Linked DNA regions of Homo sapiens: regions 1, 3 and 4 are each linked to region 2. The links are contacts of gene promoters, found by promoter capture Hi-C in blood cells and fetal thymus (Javierre and others, 2016). All regions are on one chromosome and are shown on one strand. The core of a region is centred on a gene start or on the middle of the fragment in contact, and the rest is flanking DNA. Distances in the headings are between cores, read along the strand shown.

The links. Contacts are between HindIII fragments. The CHiCAGO score rates a contact against its expected background, and 5 or more counts as called.
Region 1: a contact is called between a fragment that was not itself captured here and the fragment with the promoter of TNFAIP3 in region 2, in 1 of 17 cell types (M1 macrophages). The highest score is 5.5, in M1 macrophages.
Region 3: a contact is called between a fragment that was not itself captured here and the fragment with the promoter of TNFAIP3 in region 2, in 1 of 17 cell types (monocytes). The highest score is 6.6, in monocytes.
Region 4: a contact is called between a fragment that was not itself captured here and the fragment with the promoter of TNFAIP3 in region 2, in 2 of 17 cell types (M1 macrophages and naive CD8 T cells). The highest score is 5.5, in M1 macrophages.

The regions. Positions count from the first base shown.
Region 1 is chr6:137,092,754-137,097,398 of GRCh38, reverse strand. No RefSeq gene overlaps it. Among named protein-coding and RNA genes, the nearest start is that of IL20RA, 50 kb to the right of the region's middle. RefSeq lists enhancers at 130-299, 1,213-1,352, 2,760-3,009, 3,030-3,079. The HindIII fragment of the contact is 864 bases long and covers 2,724-3,587 here.
Region 2 is chr6:137,865,139-137,869,528 of GRCh38, reverse strand. It overlaps TNFAIP3 (TNF alpha induced protein 3), which reads right to left and starts at 2,270. Exons shown (of 9, transcript NM_001270508.2): 1 at 1,987-2,270. It overlaps WAKMAR2 (wound and keratinocyte migration associated lncRNA 2), which reads left to right and starts at 1,296. Exons shown (of 4, transcript NR_049793.1): 1 at 1,296-1,887; 2 at 2,645-2,946; 3 at 4,209-4,370. RefSeq lists silencers at 1,724-1,823, 1,964-2,133, 2,374-2,513 and an enhancer at 2,594-2,733. The HindIII fragment of the contact is 5,781 bases long and covers 1-3,811 here.
Region 3 is chr6:137,153,001-137,157,528 of GRCh38, reverse strand. IL22RA2 (interleukin 22 receptor subunit alpha 2) reads left to right here. Exons shown (of 7, transcript NM_052962.3): 4 at 675-770; 5 at 2,410-2,588. Among named protein-coding and RNA genes, the nearest start is that of IL22RA2, 18 kb to the left of the region's middle. The HindIII fragment of the contact is 9,502 bases long and covers 1-4,528 here.
Region 4 is chr6:137,232,782-137,237,328 of GRCh38, reverse strand. No RefSeq gene overlaps it. Among named protein-coding and RNA genes, the nearest start is that of IFNGR1, 16 kb to the right of the region's middle. The HindIII fragment of the contact is 3,577 bases long and covers 1-3,281 here.

The DNA of each region.
Region 1 (4,645 bases), core at 1,906-4,405, 770 kb after region 2:
TGTCTTCATTATTTTTTCCTATTTCAGAGTTTTCCAATGTCTGAAGGCAAATATGCCTATCAATTGCAAATCACAAATTCTCAACCTGGACTCTGAGGCATGGTATTGAGTAGAATGCTATAAATATGACCCAGCTGTTAACTTTGCATGTTACAAACAGAGATGTTTCATAATGGCTCATCAAGTGACTTATAAACATCAATGATGCAAGACAGAATAACTTGTTTTTTTCTACTATACCATGATGTTAAATACATCTTCTGTATTAGATTTTGTTACCTACATTCTCCCTTTGTTTATTTTTGAAAAATAAAATCCTTTTTATGGTACTCCAGACATACATTTGCATATCAGAGAGTTGGTAAAAAGAAAAAAAGAGAGAGTTATTTGGTATAAAAAGGAGTCATTAAAGACTTTAACATCAATTTGGAAAATTCAAGAATTAAGGCAGAAGACTATCATGCAAAAAGCAGTAAGTTCAAAGTAAGAGTTTAAAAAAGCAAGGGAGATTGTGGGAAATGAGCTGCCACCTTTTTTTCCCAGATTTTTATCTCATTTTAACTTTCTTTTAGGTACAATGGATGCAGACATGTCTGTAAACATTACTAATTTGAAATTACTCCTCTTGAATTTGAAGCGTATTATTTGATGGAATACTGTAAATGTGCTCACAGATGTTTCCTCACATGCTTCAAAACATAGGTGTCCCAACATGGTCAGCCAAGTGGCTTTTAAATATTGATGATGCAAGAAAAATTACCATGTTTTTATATAATTGGGCACCATTGAGGTTTTGCAAGGCTTCAGATTTTACTGGTAATAAAAGCTATAAATTGAGTCTTCCCTTACTACCAATCTCTTCATCTCAGACCTGCCCCAAAACCCTACTTGTCTGACATAATAAACAGTTGAACCCCAGCATAATTAACCAATTTTATAAGATGGTTTTATGATCAACCTAGAATATAGATGATACAAATGTCTTCCCATGTTACAGGGTGGCAAGCCGATTTTCATCAGACATTTATGAGGAGATCATTTTCTCTGACCACTTCATTCCCAAGGCCAGGGCTGATGGGAGGTAGGGTAGGTGGTGAGGGAGACAGTGAGGAAATGGAAGTTCTATCACCAAGAAAATTTCCTGGTGAGTGTGATATCAGGCAGTGAGAGAGTTTGAGAAGCAAAGAGCAGTGGTTTGCTTTTATTTTTTGGTTTTTGTTTTGTGGTGGTGGTGTGGGGTTTGTTTTTAGTGACAGGCTTTAAATCACAAAGAAACATTTCAAAAGTAAATGACATTTAACTTGAATAACTGGACAAATGATTCTTCTAACATCATCTGAAGAGAAGCTATTTACCTTCTGATGCATTGGTGAGGGGCCATATGGTGTTGTTATGCCATTTATGCATAGGAATTCCTGTTTTCATACTGAAGTATGTACACACACACATATATACAGTGTTAGTTCTACTGCTCTCTCATCAGTGGATTTCAGAGATATTTCCATTTAGTCTCATTGAAGGTCTGGTGTGGGAGGATATGAGAGAGGAAGTCACTGGGCCCATGGGAAACTGAGTTTGGGTGCAACCTCTGAAGCCAGAAGAAGGGGAAGCCACCAGTAACCTAGTTATCTCATCCAGGCAACCAGTGATGATTTACATGCACAGCTGTCCTCAGACAGCCCTGCTGCATGGCTGACAATTACAGGATGGTTGAAACCCTGCTCTCTGTGTCTAGTAAATATTATTTCTATTGTCATGTCAAAACACTAGGCCTTTTTTCAATTATTCAGCTTTTCTTTTACAATCATCGATTGTACTGTGGAAAAAACCTCAGGAGAAAACTCTATTATATACCAGCCAGAATCCTTTAACGAGTAATTTTGCACATTTACCATAAACTTAAACTTGAATCTTACACTCTTCAGTGTTTTGGGTTGCAAACAACAGTAGATTTTCTGGCTAACCTGAATTTGTTAGAAGGATATAAATAAGCTCCCAGCGTTGTTGGGAAAACTCAGCATACTTAGGCAGAAACGAAGGTAGGCAAAGCCCCGCCAACATCCTGCAGGGACCTGCTGATCCCGGGTGCTTGCTATTACGCCACTAGCCTACACCTGACATCACAAATAATATGCAAGTGGCTGAGCCTTTGAGATGCCCAGCCACGCTTTGGTCACATGACCATGCTCCAGCAGCCAGGGGTCAAAGAGTCGAAGAAAGATCGTCCCCCTTTGACTTCCATTGCGGCGAGGGACAAGCCCTGTCCCTCACCCATCTTCAGATTCTCCCCAAACAGGAAGGATACTGGGCATCCAGAAGCACAAAATGTTTAGGGCTTGGTGGTCGGTGCTTTAACTACATTTCCTCACTTAATTATGACAACAGCCGCGTCACTCCTGTCTTAAAGATGAGAAATCAAGGCTCGAAAAAGACAAGCAATTGCCCATCATGGTGAGATCTAAGATATTGAAGCCCCATTGCACACATCACAGAAATCTTACATTATGATTAATCTCACTCAAATGTTAGGTGTCTTTGAGTGTATTTCCTTAGAAAAGTTGTGATCTGAATGTGGTAACACTCTTGACCAAAACACAGGTTTCATTAAAAAACAAAACAAAACCATTTCTTCAAACACAGCCGTGTCATAATAAGAGTCTTTAAGAATAAGTTAGTGCCTGTCTATTCCATATTACAAGCTGAAAGCATAATTTCTTTAAGCTTAGCTGTCAATTTATCTGAAAATATGGAAGGAATAACATATTCTTAGTTTACAACAAGGAATTTATGGCTTAAAGATGCTTAGAGGGGACTGTTTTTTTGCTTCTGCGTAGAACCACAGCACGCTACTGACCTCCTGTGGCCATATTTCAAGGTACTGTCTTCTATTTAAAAGGAGCTTCTTCAAAGAGAACAGCAATTGCAGGAGAGGTCCCCCGGGTGTTTGATCCTGATGTGTCATCATTGAGAAACTAGTTGTTGTTCTACTCAAATGTGGAATTACTGAGCCAGTAAGTCCAACTGTGCTCTGCCCAAAAGCTACAGTCTTGTTCCTAATAATTTGCCCAAGTCTTTGCCCACAACATAACTTCTATATTTTTAAAAAATATTCACTGAGCACCTATTGGGTTTGGGGCATCTGACAAACACTTTACCTTGTCTCATTTAATCAATGCAACAACTATATTATTGCCATTTTATAGAGAAATTGAAGTTCAAGGAAGATCAGTAATTTTTCCCAAAATCAGAGGCACAAAATGGGATTTTGATCAAAGGATTCAATCCCCTTCCCCATCTTCAAGGTCTGTAATATGGTTTGGATACATGTCTCCACCCAAATCCCATGTCAAATTGTAATCCCCAGTGTTGGAAGTGGGGCCTGGTGACAGATGATTGGACAATTGGAGCGATTTCTTGTCAGTAGTTTCGCAGCATCCCCTTGGTGCTGTTCTCATGATAGTGAGTGAGTTCTCATGAGATCTGGTCATTTAAAAGTGTGCAGCACCTCCCCACTTCCTCTCTCTTGCTGCTGCTCCAGCCATGTAAGACTCCTGCTCTCCCTTTGCCTTTTACCACAATTGGAAGCTTCCTGAGGCCTCCCCAGAAGCAAAAGCCACCATGCTTTCTGCACAGCCTTGCAGAACCATGAGCCAATTAAACCTCTTTTCTTTATAAATTGCCCAGTTTCAGATAGTTCTTGATAGTAGTGCAAGCACAGACTAAAACAGTCTTCTAACATCACCCATGAAGGCTTCCGTGACTGCTTGGCACACAGAGATATCACCTCCTCAGGACTTTAGTACTTGGCTCATACTCCTTTATATTATTATTTTTATACGTGTAGTAAAAACCTTGGTCAAAGGTCAGATGGGAGGGGTGTTAGTGTGTAAATCTAGAACAAAAAATTCTCCCAGGGTCAAAATCTGCACATGTAGTTGTGAAAAATAATGATGGCTCACATTTACCAGCTGCTAGCTGTGAGCCAGAGATGTCTCGATGTGCTTAACATGTTCTAAATGACTGAGCATGTGGCTTCAAGGCTTAGCTGGTTACAGCGGTTGTCTAGGAAATGACTGAATCTTTTTTACACCAACTCTGCAATGTGGATGTTACTAATATCCCTGGTTTATAGATGAGAAGACTGAGATGTTAAATCTGTTGTTTTCAAAGGTTGAATTGTGTCTCCACAAAATTCATATGTTAAAGTTCTAACTCCCAGTACCCCAAATGCGGCCTTATTCAAAAATATGATGGTTGCAGATGTAATTAGTTAAGATGGGGTCTTATTGGAGTAGAGTGGGCCCTTAATCCAATATGACTGGTGTCCTTCAAAAAGAATGCTATGTGAAAACACAGACACACACACACAGTGATTATACCATGTAATGGCCAGACACGGTAGCTCATGCCTGTAATCCCAGCACTTTGGGAAGCCGAGCCAGGCAGATCACTTGAGGTCAGGAGTTTGAGACCAGCCCCACTAACATGGTGAAATGCTGTCTCTACTAAAAATACAAAAATTATCCGGGCATGGTGGTGGGTGCCTATAATCCCAGCTACTCGGGAGGCTGAGGCAGGAGAATCGCTTGTACCCGGGAGGCAGAAGTTGCAGTGAGCCGAGATTGCACTACTGCACTCCAGCCTG
Region 2 (4,390 bases), core at 1,021-3,520:
CAGATGGTGCTCTCTTTTGATGTCAGACGTCCTCTACAGGTGGAATTGGGCAAAATCATAGCAGGATAAAAATAACACATATACCTTTCCTTTGTGGCACAGCAAAAGTCTCTTTCACAATATCATCTATCCGTCCGTCCGTCCGTCCGTCCATCCATCCATCCATCCATCCATCCATCCATCCATCCATCTATCCATCCATCCACCCATCCACCCAACAAGCACTACCTGACCACCTACTGAAGGCCAATCACCATGCTTGATGATGGGACTAAAAGTCAAAGATGACCTTATTCCCTTCCCTGAAATTACACTACCACCTTAGTCTGCAGCTAAGGCAATGGAGTTACAGGTACTGCTCAGATCCCACAGCCATTCAGGGGCAAAGTTTTGCCTAGGAGCCAGGTCTTTCAATACCTGCCCCTTGCAATCCCACAACACCAAACCTGTGGCTACAGTGCCTGCCACAATCAGATGGAAAGAGATGGGCAGTAGGAAGATTTTAAACAAATGAGGTGTTATCTCTTTTTGCTTGCCTGACTCTTTTATTTTTCTCTTCTGAATCTAAAGATTTTTCACCAAAGATCTAAAATAGTGAGAGCTGTAAACCATAGGCAAGACATGCAAATGTCAATATCGGATACGCCAGTGTGATCTCATTGGTAGGGTTAGCCTTGCACAGCCTGTAAAACTGCCTCCTTAGAAATCAAAACCCACTGCCCAGATTTCCAGGTCTTGGACCACTCTACGCTTAAGATTAAAGAACAAATGTTTCAGATACGTTATAAGTGGCAAACAATGCAATATTACCCTTAACTTTTTTTTTTTTAACATTTGTTACCTCACTGTCTTATTTAAAGGTAGTTTCTCAACTTTTGTCACTAGGATTCCACAGAACTTCTCCGTTACTCAAACTCTTCTCCCCCTTGTTTTATTTTTCCACTCTGGGCAGACATTTTTGTCTGCATTGTGGAAATTGATGAATTATTTATCAACAAATACCTCATCCAAATTTGGGGATGTGCCTCTCCAAAAAATCAAAAATAGTACAAAGAATTGAAAAAAAAATCAAAGCAGCACCTTAAACAATGAGAATGAAGCATTCATTGGCTGCTCAATAATCTGGTACATTAAGGTTGCGGTCCAGAAGTCCCTTTAATTAACAATGGTTCTGCCAAAATGCTACCCTGAGACACTTGACCAGACTGGCTTTCCAAGGCAAGAAGATCTGAGGCGAGGAGAACCGAAAACAAAGCGGGCTCAAAAAGAGTTAAGCTCCTTCCTTACTTAATGCCACTGCTTTTCTGAGAGGCCAGGTGGCAGGATGTGGGACGACTCCAGCTGACAAAGACAGTCTAACCGTGGGGTAGGGGCTGGAGCAGGGGCCAGCGACCCACGTCTACATGCATACTTCTCTTACACTGCTGCTACTGGAAAAGCTGAACCCCGCGCCAGGACCCCAGCCCCCTGCAAGGACCCGTGAGCGTCTGGGAAGCTGTCTCTGGGACTGAAGCCCCCCACCTCCGCCGGGCTGGCGGCCACTGCGGTACCCTACGCCCCGTCGGGCTGGTCCTGCACAATTTGGGAAAAAGCCGCAGCGCTTCTGCAAGGTCTACGTGGCCATGAGCATGCAACGCTTGGCTCCAAAAAAGACACGAAAGGAGCAAAGCGCCAACGACCACCCGATCGGAGGGCCCGAGGGGCGCCTCTTCACCAGTCAGCTGCAGCTTAAGTTCCGTGCATTATCTGAAAGGAACAGCTGGCTGGAGGTATCCAGGGCTGTCACTCCAACCTCTGCAGCAGTGACCTCAACTCCCAGCACTTCAAAACCCAGACAGAAACGTCCAACAAACTCCCAGTCCAGGAGCGCTGCAAAACCAACGCCAGGTAGACGGTGCCAGCCCGGGGGTCGCTGCCCAACATGCACCCGCAGCCCTTGACTGCGGTGAGCCCGAGGCAGACGGCACGGGGAGGCGCGGCGGTTACCTCTCCGGGAGGCGCGGCGGTTACCTCTCCGGGAGGCGCGGCGGTTACCTCTCCGGGCCCCGCGATCCTTTCGCAAAGTCCCAAGTCCTGGTCAAGGCAGGAGCGCGCCGCAGGCGGGGGTCGGGGCAGGGACCGGGCGGAGGCGACGCTCCATGGACGCCTGGGGTCGGGCTCGCTCGCTGGCAGGGTCGGCTGGGGGTGTGATCTCTCTTGGCGGCCGCTCTCACCGCTCCGCCCCCGCGGGCTCCAAGCTCGCTTGGCCCGCCACGAAGACTGCAGACTGCGCAGTCTGCTTTGCCCCGTTTCAGTTGTATGCGGGTTGTAGGCCCGGGGATTTCCACGGGACTTTCCAAAGTCACGTGACTCTCTGGGTCGGGCTGCGAAGTGCGTCCAGCCGGCCGCCAGAGGGCGCAGGGGGCGAGGGGCGCGCGCGGCCTCCGCCCGACCGGGCCTGCGGGCCCCGCCCCGCCCCCTTTCCCTGCCCCGCCCCGCTGCCCCGCCCCGCCCGGTCCCTGCAGGCGCCCGGAGAAACTCCCTCGCCCCGCCCCGGGGTGTCCCCGCGTGAGTCACCTGGGCATTTCGGAAGCTGGGGTCACGTCACATCCATGTGGAAATCGCGGTGATGGGAACTGGAAATGAAATAGGTTCTTTTTCGCAGTTGTTTTTCTGCAGAAAATCATCAACTGTGGAGAAGAAGAAGGGAAATAAGAAAGAAAGAAAACCCTAAAAACCACCCTGGCGCCCGGGCCCGCAGGCCTCGGGCCGGCTCTGAAAAGTTTGGGCTGTGCACGTGATGAGCGCGTAGGCGGGAGCCCCAGACAGGACCCGGGCGGGCATTTCGAGAAAAAGCAGCGGTGACAGCCTTTGGTCCCCATCTCCATTGTTCCTGCCAGCTCTGGACCCCAGGCTGCATGAGACGTAGGTCCCAGGGGACACCCGACCCCGTGGCCCCAGTCTTAGGTAAACTTAGGAATCAGAACAACACTCACCCCTATGCCGCGCTTGCTCCATTTCCCCTTGTCTATTTCTGCTCACCAAGCATCCAGCTGACATTGCATTCAAAGCAGCATTTCAGCTTAGAAATCGCTTCTAGTCCATCACGGTGCTTGCCATGTGTCTCCAAGGCTTTATTAGGTGTGTTTTTAGTTGTCCTGATAATCAGTTCACCCCAGGGTGCTGATGGCTGATAATACTGGCGCTTCCCTCCCTACCCCCATGCGTTGCACAGGGAGGGTGAGTCATGTGGAGATGGATGCAGCCCCCTGGGCAGTGGGGGTGCAGGTGCTGTGCAGGGAGGAGTCTTAGGGCGTTTTTACTGTCTTACTGCCCTCTAAGCACGGGACCCTTTGGATCATTTACTAGATTGGCTAAACTAGAACCGGATGGAAATATTCTGTACTATGGTCCCCTTAATTACATTTAAGAATACTTGTCAGGCCATATATCACAGGTTTTTAATTAGAAAAGTATCCTCCTCTCGCCAGTAAGGACTTGCAGAGATGGGGGTGGGGGCTGGATGGAGGGTGGCACTTTTTTGGCAAAAAGAAGTTTGGAGCAGAGTGTCACTAGTGGCCTCTCTGAAGACTGGTCCTCGTCTTTTAAAACCGATGGCTGGAATTTCTTCCAGTTCCAAACCTCTTGTTATTTGTCCTCTCTTCTTGTTCACAAATGTGCTATCAACATTCAAACAATGGATAGTCAGCTATCCATTGTAAATGGACCTTGCTGGAGTCCAGGGCTAGCAGAAATGACAGGGTCTAAAATGACATTTATCAAGTACTTGCTATATGCTTATATATGCTTTTTATATGAAGGTTAAGAAGCTTGAGGCATTTGCCCAGTTTCCACAACCAAAAGGGGCAGAGTCGCCAGTGGCATTAAGCCTGTGTTACTCCAAAGCCCATAATGACCAGTCTTACTAGACCATTCCTCTCAGGAAAGATCCTGTGAGACAGGTACTCTTTTGGTGTCCTGTCTCCCAGCCTCTCAAAACAGCCAAACACGGACCTTAGACAGAATGCGGCTTCAGAGGTAGAAGGGTCTTGGTTTCACCTTCAGGAAACCTCCTGGGTTTCAGTTGAGCTGGCAGAAGAAGATCATGTATCTGAAAGACCCTGCATGGAATGTTAATCCTCACACCACTCTCCTGCTGGTGCTCCTTTGTAAACAGAGTTGGCCTGTTTCCTCTCATCTCTGGCTCCATGACTTCAATCCTCCTGCAGCTTCCACTGCCCCTATCTGGCTCATGTCTTGCTGTCTGGTGTCATGAACTGGGAGTGCAGTAAAGAGGAGTGACAAGCCTGAGGGGCCACGTTCATACCTGCCACTGCCAACTGTCCTGATGTAACTGCTTTGTCATCTTGCCTGCCAGGATTTGTGACAAGGTAATAGCAGTCAGATGCAG
Region 3 (4,528 bases), core at 363-2,862, 710 kb after region 2:
AGCATGGGGTAGGTCCTAGGTCAGATTTTCCTGCTAATTAATTTCGGAAGGAATATCCCCAGAAGCATCTCCATCTTTAACCGCTACGACTTCTCTCTACATATTTTATGTAGCGATTGTAAAATGTACAAATCTTTACAATGAAGGTTTCTCCATTACAAAAGTAGATTTGTGCATTGCTGGAGATACTTTCAGCATGCAGAAAGTAAAGATTGGTACTCTTTTTATGCTTCCCCTGGAGTAGTATAAATAGGTCAAAAGTGGACCTATTTGTGGTCCAAAGTACTAAGAAGATTAGAAACTGTTTTACCATGAATCTAATGAAGATTAAACTTCAGGACCCCAATGCAAGGATTTTATATTTATAAATCTTTTCCTAAAGAGGACTCCCAAGCTGCTATGGTTTGAGTTTGTCTCCACCAAAATTCATGTTGAAATTTGATCCTTAGTGTGGTGGTGTTGGAAGTAGGGCCTCGTAGGAGGTGTTTGGGTCATGGGGATGGAGCACTCATGAATGGCTTGGTACCATTATTGCTGCAGTTGAGTGAGTTCTCACTCTTGCAAGACTGAATTTGTCATGGAAATGTTTCTATGAGAGTGGTTGTTGTAAAGCCAGGATGCCCCTTGAGTTTGGCCTCTTCACACGATCTGTTTTCCCCATTGACCTTCTCTAGCATGTTCTCATGCAGCATGAAAAGCTCTCACCAGAAGCCAAGTGGATGCTGGCAGCACATTTCTTGTAACTTCCCAGGCTGCAGAACATTGGCTAAGTACACCTCTTTTCCTTATCAATTACCTAGCCTCAGGTGTTCTGTTATAGAAACATTAAATGGACCAAGATTGTATAAATTTCAGACCCCAGAATACCTGAATCCATTCCTGTCTCTAAGGGATTTTCAACAGCACAAGACAAATTTATAATTTTGAAAACTTTCACTTTGGTGTATCCAGTTCATGGGCTATAATACTGTTATATCCCTTGCGTTTAGAATAGGATAAACAATGAGATATTATTTTAAAAGAGAAGTCTGTCATTACAGCTAAGTTCAAGACTTATTATAAATAAATAATAATTTTAAAACATCAAATTATACTCAATATATGTTGTGGTTCTGCTTTAATTGTGATGGAATGAAACTGCTGTCACCATGTAGATTACCGAGTATAGATACCGTCTATCTTCCTTATTATGTGTCTAGAAAGCTAGATTTCAAGTCTTTCAATAAATATTTTGGGAAACCTTTCTCCCCAGACTCCAATTCCTTCTCTTTTCCCCACCATCACTTTGTTACATTGGTCTGATTTATGGCAGGTAAGGAAACAAAGCGTGAATCTTCCCTTTGACTATTACACCATCCTGTGGCCTCAGGCTGAGTCAACCACTCTGCCTCTTGCCTCACTACCTTTTTTCATGGGATTCCCTCCCCCTCTCCCAACCCCTAATTACAGGGCTCCATATATAGTCCTCAATAAAAGTTCCCGTCAATTTTCAATAAAGAGATTAATCATGTATGTTGGGTAGGCAACACCTGAGATGAAAAGTGGTAGCAACTTCTCAGAAGCAGCCACATTACTCAACAGCAAGCTGATGAGAAGTGGAGAAAAACCACAAACAGCCAAAACCACAGAGCATTAAGGATGTGGAGAGTGAGTATTCAAAAATGGAAGTCAGTCCACACACCAGAAAGAACATTTTGCCAAGTATTAAAAAAAAGGTTAAAACCCTTATGTTAGTGATACAGAAAGCGTCAGGGATGTTTATCTTCCAGCAAGACAGCACTTTAGGTAATGCTGTGGTTTCTATGTGTCCCCCAAAAGTTCATGTGTTGGAAACCTGATCCCCAGTGCAGCAATGTTGAGAGGTGGGACTTTGGGGAGATGATTGGGTCATGAGGATTCTGCCCCCATGAATGGATTCATCCATTGATGGATTAACGAATTAATGTGTTATTGAGGAAGTGGGCTAGTTATCAAAAAAGTTGGTCTGTTTTATATATATTTTATATTTTATATATATATGTATATATATGTATATGCCATCTCTCTTGAATCCCTGTGAAGTCCTCTGTCACCTTAAGTCTCTGCAGAGAGTCCCCACCAGCAAGAAGGCCCTCACCAGATGTGGCTCTTATGGCTCTTAGACATTAGACTTCCTAGCCTCCAAAACTGTAAGAAATAAATTCCTTTTCTTTATAAATTACCCAGTCTCGGGTATTCAGTTATAGCAACAGAAAATGGACTGAAACAGTTAATAAGAAGGAATTTTTTTAAAGATTCTGAAGAGGAGCCATAAGCTATCATGGTGGTATTGCTACTAGAATCAGGTATAAAAAATTATTAGTCTGAAAATACTGAAGACTCCTTGAGTGGAGAAAAGAAACTCAGATCTTTGCCTTTTCCCTGCTACAGATATGGACAGAGACAATGGAAAAATAAAGAAGACTGTTGGGGTACTCAAGAACTCTCTTGTGACCTTACCAGTGAAACCTCAGACATACAGGAACCTTATTACGGGAGGGTGAGGGCGGCCTCGGCTGGGAGCTACTCAGAATGGAGCATGACGCCGCGGTTCACTCCCTGGTGGGAAAGTGAGTTCCATGGAGTTTCTTTGCCCTTGTTCTTCCTGCTTTTGGACAGCCCTCCCGGAGCACGGCTAGTGACTAGGCCTTGTGCTTTGCTGAGGTCTCTACATCATTATCTCTTTTGGTCTAATTGTCAGAACAACTCTAGGAGATAGCTTTTATTATCCTAATTTTCTAGTCCAGAACATCAAGATGTAGAGGCTTTAGTCATTGCTCCAATCTCGCAATCTGTATTATCCAAGTCAGGGTTCAAATTTGCTATATCTGACTGCAGAGCCTCCACTCCATCAATTTGTCACCTTGTGTGTGTGTGTGTGTGTGTGTGTTTGTGTGTGACAGGGTCTCGCTTTGTCACCCAGGCTGGAGTGCAGTGGCACGATCTTGGCTCACTGCAACCTCTGCATCCCGGGTTCAAGCGATTCTCCGGCCTCTGCCTCCCGAGTAGCTAGGATTACAAGTGTGTGCCACCACCCTTGGCTAATTTTTGTATTTTTAGTAGAGACGGGGTTTCATCATATTGGCCAGGCTGGTTTCAAACTCCTGACCTCAGGTGATCTGCCCCCTTTGGCCTCCCAAAGTGCTGGGATTATGGGTGTGAGCCACCATGCCCAGCCCCTAAAAAAGTATTTTTAGACAGCAGAATTTGTCATAGTGCCTAGTCCTTCCCCAAACACGAGGGTTAAGTTCATGAAAATACTGATTACAGGAATTTTCTGTTGAGGAAATTAAGACTTTTAGTCACCTCCCCAAAAAGGCAGACCAAAAGTGCTTTCTCAGTATCCATCCTGAAGGATATTTATTCCTTTTTTAGTTTAGTCACAACCATAGAATAATATAATCTAAGACATAGGTGTTAAAATTAACCATTACCAACAGACATTGGATAAAATAGTAGAGAGAGAGAGAGAAGGGGTTTAATGTATAGATATAAAGATGTGCATAAATAGAACAAGAAAAAAAAAAGATATTTACCACAGTCCTCATAATTGCAACAAGTCAACTAGTCATGAAGCTGTAGTTAATATTTATGACTTCTTCCTTCATTATAAACTCAACATTCACTTTCTTTCCAGCCAGCACTTCAGCTCTTTATCCACGAGGAGTTTGAGTCCTTTTGGTGTTTCCTGTCTCCGCTTGACCTAACCTTACATTAATTTTTATCACTGAATAGAGAAGCTCTAAGAGGCACACCAGAGGATACCAAGAATTCTTCCACCTGACCCCATTGTATTTATAACTATATTATGCCTTGAAAATCAGAATGAATCACCCTAGACAATATAAGAACCTCATTTTCTTTTTGTTAGTTAAATGGCATGAGGCGCTCCAAATGGTCAGGAGAGAGCCTCGACTTCCAATTTTTGGAAACCATTTTTGTTATAAACCAGAAGAATTCAAGGCCAAGCATATGGGAAACAAAAACATGTCATAAGTTGTTCACTATGGGTAACAGTCAGAGTTGCCCCTCCCACTTCTACTTCTTGTATCCTAGACCAGTGAATTCTGTCTGTGGAAGAAATAGCACCATATATTGGCCCTAGGCTTAGTGAAGCATTTACCAATTGGAGCATTTACCAATTCATATGCCAATTCACAAGACGTCTCTCAAACTGAGTTTTCAATTATCCATTTCACCTTCCTATAAAGTCATGGATTTCTGAGCGACAAATATATGATATATATTTGTCCTATGGGTCTTGAGACCTTGCTTCACTCCTTTCACATTAACTTAAGTTCTTTGTCATAAGCAATGTATTGTGGAGTACTATGCTCATGAACAAGGCATTGACTACATCTATGGGTGTATGTGTGGTCCCAGGAGTGGTTAGGGGTCTGCTAATAAAAGCATTGAAGCAGTAAATAAAAATCTATAAACAAAATCTGTAACCAGAATCTATATCCAGCAGTAAAGAAAATCTATAACCAATGTCTCTTGCCCCCTCCCT
Region 4 (4,547 bases), core at 244-2,743, 630 kb after region 2:
TGGGCAAAGGACAGATGCTTTCCAATAAAATATAAGCTCATATACCTATTAGAAAAAAGTAAAACTTTTAAAAACCTGAAAATATTTTACTACAAGGGCACAGAGCAAGTGGAATTCTCATTTACTGCTGGCAGGAATTCAAAATGGTTTAGCCACTTTGGAAAATAGTTTGGCAGTTTCTTATAAAGTTAAACAAATTCGTGGCACATGACCCAGCAGTCCCACCCCTAGGTATTTGGCCCACATAAACTAAAACATGTGTCCACATACAGAAAAGTCTAAAAGTGAATGTTTACAGCAGCTTTATTCATAATCACCAACAACTGGAAACAACCCAAATGACCACCAACTGGTGAACAGATCGATCTTTTCAAAATGTTGTACATCCATAAAATGGAAGCCTGCTCTAGAATAAAAAAGAACTAAGTGTTGATGCACGCAACAACACAGATGCATCTCAAAAGCAGTATCCCAAGGGAAGGGGACGGAGACAAAAGGCTAAGTCCTGAATGATTCCATTTCTATGGCATTCAGGAAAAGGCTAATCTGTACAGATGGAAAACAGATAAGCGTTTACTAGGTGGTGGGTGGAGGTAGGTGACTGCAAAGGGACCTAAGGGAACTTTTTGTGAATTAACTTGATTGTGGTTGTACTTAGATGACTGTATAGGTTGTCAATGCCATAAAATGTATGTTGAAAGTGATGCTTTTGACTGCATGCAAATATAAATAATACCTCAATAAATCTGATTTTCAAAAGTAGTGGCAGGGCACGGTGGCTCACGCCTGTAATCCCAGCACTTTGGGAGGCTGAGGCAGGTGGATCACAAGATCAGGAGATCAAGACCATCCTGGCTAATATGGTGAAACCCTGTCTCTACTAAAAATACAAAAAAAAAATTAGCCAGGCGTGGTGGCGGGCACCTGTAGTCCCAGCTACTCGGGAGGCTGAGGCAAGAGAATGGTGTGAACCCGGGAGGCGGAGCTTGCAGTGAGCTGAGATCGTGCCACTGCACTACAGCCTGAGCGACTGAGCAAGACTCCATCTCAAAAAAAAAAAAAAAAAAAAAGAAGTAAGTTAGAATCATGAAAGCAAATGAGGGCAAGTACTTTGGTTTACTCACTGCTTTCTCCCTAGTACCTATAACAGTAACTGGCACATGAAAAGTATTTACAGTAAGGAAGGAAGATAGAAAATAGAGAAAGAAAAAGAAAAATTGAAGGAAAGAAGTGGCGGAGGGAAAGAGGGAAGCAAACAAAATATTTCTGTATTAAAATGTCAACCACTGCATTACTTGTTCGGCAACAATTTGGAAACCATCTAAATATTCACCCTAAAGGGAATAGGTAAGTACATGATGGTTCATTTATAAAATGACAATATTCAGCCTTTTAAAATGTTTATGAAGTCTTTAATGAAAAATAAAATGCTGAGTTAAGCATGTTGGCTCATGGTCTGTAATCCCAACTACTCAGGAGGCTGAGGCAAGAGGATCATTTGAGCCCAGGAGTTCAAGACCAGGCTGCACAAAATAGGGAGACTTCATCTCTAAAAAGAGTTTTAAAATTCAACTGGGCATGGGGGTACATGTCTGTAGTCCCAGGTACTTGGGAGGCTGAGGCAGAGGATTGGTTGAGCACAGGAGTTCGAGGCTGCAGTGAGCTATGATTGCACCACCGCACTCCAGTCTGGGTGACAGAGGCAGATCCGTCACTAAAAATAGTAACAGTAATAATAATTTTTTTAAAAATAGATGCTAAAATATAATATTAAGCCAAAATAAGACAGAATTCAAAGTTAAATACACAGCATACTTAGCTATGTAAAATTTTTAAACATTTCATATAAAAAGTATTCCAAAAAAATAGCCAAAAATTATAATAGTAGGTCTCTATAGGTGATGAGATTATGCTTACTGGTTTTCAGGTTTTTTCTCACACTTCCCTGTACGTCCAAGGCTTTGCACATGAGAATAAATTGAAAACAGTATTAAAACGTACTTTAAAAAAATTGATGTTCAGCAAAAGAATCTAGACACCAGACTACCTAAAGTAAGATTCCACTTATATAAGGTACAAAACAGGAAAAACCAAGCTCTGCTATTAGAAGTGAGGACAAGGGTTCCCTGTAGGCTAAAGAGAAAAGAATAGCAGGGAGTATAAAGAGGACTGGGAGCTGCTGGTTACTTAGATATTCTCAGTTTTTGAAAATGAATAATTATATTCACGTATGTGCACTTTTCTGTATGTATATTATAATTTGCTCAAAGTGATTTTAAGAAAAAGTATTATAGTTCTCATCCCAGAAAGAGGCAGAAGTGGATATTTTAAAGATCCTAGAAGTCTTCCTAAAACTATGCCCACAACTAACATTGCCCAATTAATTAATCTATTTTCTTGGTTGAGAACTTAATTCATACCAACAGAACAAGCAACCAAGTTTCTTTTAAAAAGTTCAGGACTTAATATACTAACCAGTCCTCCAGATTCTCACAGATCATACTAAATACCCATAAGAGCATTGAAAGGTTGGCAATGAAATGCCTACTAAACAGGTGTATGCATTAAAGAATTAGGCTACAGAGAGTGCGCCACTGCACTCCAGCGTGGGTGACAAAAAAAAAAAAGGCTATAAATATGACTCATCTACATGTTTCTACTGGTGAAAAAACTCACTGCCATTTCCTTCCTCTTAAGGAAGTAAGGACGCCTTTTATAGCCCTTTCTCGCAGGTGGATGGATGGCTGGAGGAGAAAGAGGACAGTCAAGCAGAAAAGGAAAAGAAAAGTGATGAACCTCAGTGGGGTTTGTCCAATTAAGCCACATCTGAATATAAGTAAGAAAGGATTCCTGAAAAAAAATACATGTGTACCAGCTACTTATACAGAGGTAGTCAATTAAGGACATAGTATAGAAAGCAAACTGCAATGTTAAGAAATAAAAAATAATTTTTAACCAATAGGTATTCTTAACAAAAAGTTGTTAAAATGAGTAAGAGATGTGGCAAATAGAAAATATAATAGGAAGAATGTGCATTCAAAGACAGAAGGGAAAATAAATACTTGGGTGTGCTTTCTTCCCTTCCTCCACTTCCTTGTTTTCACCATCAAGAAACACTGATCCTCCTCCTGAAAAGTCCCCGAGATATAAAACCTTGCTTCCTCAATCTTGAAGCAATGACTCATCTTTTTAGCACAGCTCTCCCCTTTCCTCTTCCCACGATTCAAAGTCCCTTCAATTGAAGGCAGACCAGATTATTTGGCAACTTTAGAAGACAAGCTTTCTTTTCAGGAGTCAGAGCCAAAGGGATTTCCCTGAGGAAAATACTAACAGGAAATGTGCACCAGTAGAAGGAGACTCAGAGACCTGGCCGAATCCTGCCTGCAGGACAGGCCAACTGAGTCACCTGGCTTGGGACTTTGGGAAGATCAGTTAGTTGGTCTGCCTCTCTGTGACCACATCTACAAAATGATAATAAATAACATTGGTGTGCTGCCTACTGCTTACACTTGTGGGAATCCAATAATACAATGGTTGTTTAAAAGTACTCCCTACATTGTACAGCACACAGTGATGAGTTCCTGTTACTATTATTACATCAGGAGTCAGTACTGATAGGTAGTCCACAGGCTCAGATCAGCTGCAGTGTGAAAGATGAACAGAAAAATTAGATACAGTTCCTAGACCAGGGCTCCCAAGCTGAATGCCTTTGATTTAAAATCAGGCTGTCTCCAAACCTTTTGCCCAGCACGGTGGCTCACGCCTGTAATCCCAGCACTTTGGGAGGGCAAGGCAGGCGGATGGCTTGATCTCAGGGTTTGAGACCAGCCCAGGCAATATGATGAAACCCCAGTTCTACAAAAAATAGAAAAATTAGCTGGGTGTGGTGGCGCATGCCTGTAGTTCCAGCTACTAGGGAAGCAGTGGTGGAGGATCGCTTGAAGCCAGGAGGTGGAGGTTGAAGTGAGCCAAGATTGCACCACTGCACGCCAGCCTGGGCAACAGAGTGAGATCACAAAATAAATAAAATAAAATAAAATAAAATCAGGCTGTGACAACTGTCACTCTCTACATGTAGCAGAAACTGATTCATGGGTAAAAATCAGAAGCTGTACAGTGGCTTCTTTAATCATGGACATGGCAACAGAAAAACAATAAAACAATTGCTCCGTAGCCCATGGTGCTCTAGTTCCTGCTTCCTTTCCCAAGGCCCAACCTTTGGAGTCCCTGATATAAATTGAAATGCAAATGAATTAAAAACAACATCAAAAATACTTTTAAAAAGCATGGCTGTTTAGCAAAAGAATCTAGACACAAAAAAGTGCATACGGTAAGATTCCACTTATCTCTGCCCCCACCTCCTTCCAACAAATTTCAATTTTGGACTAAAATAATTTACAATTTAAAAGCCTCATAGTGTTGCAAAGGAGGGCTAGACGGAGGACCTAGAACCTAGCACTTCCTGGTGCAGTCACTGTCAGGGTGAGGCACTGCAGTGACCTGCCGACTGAGGAAGACTTGGCCAAAAAGAACAGGCAATGGAGCTG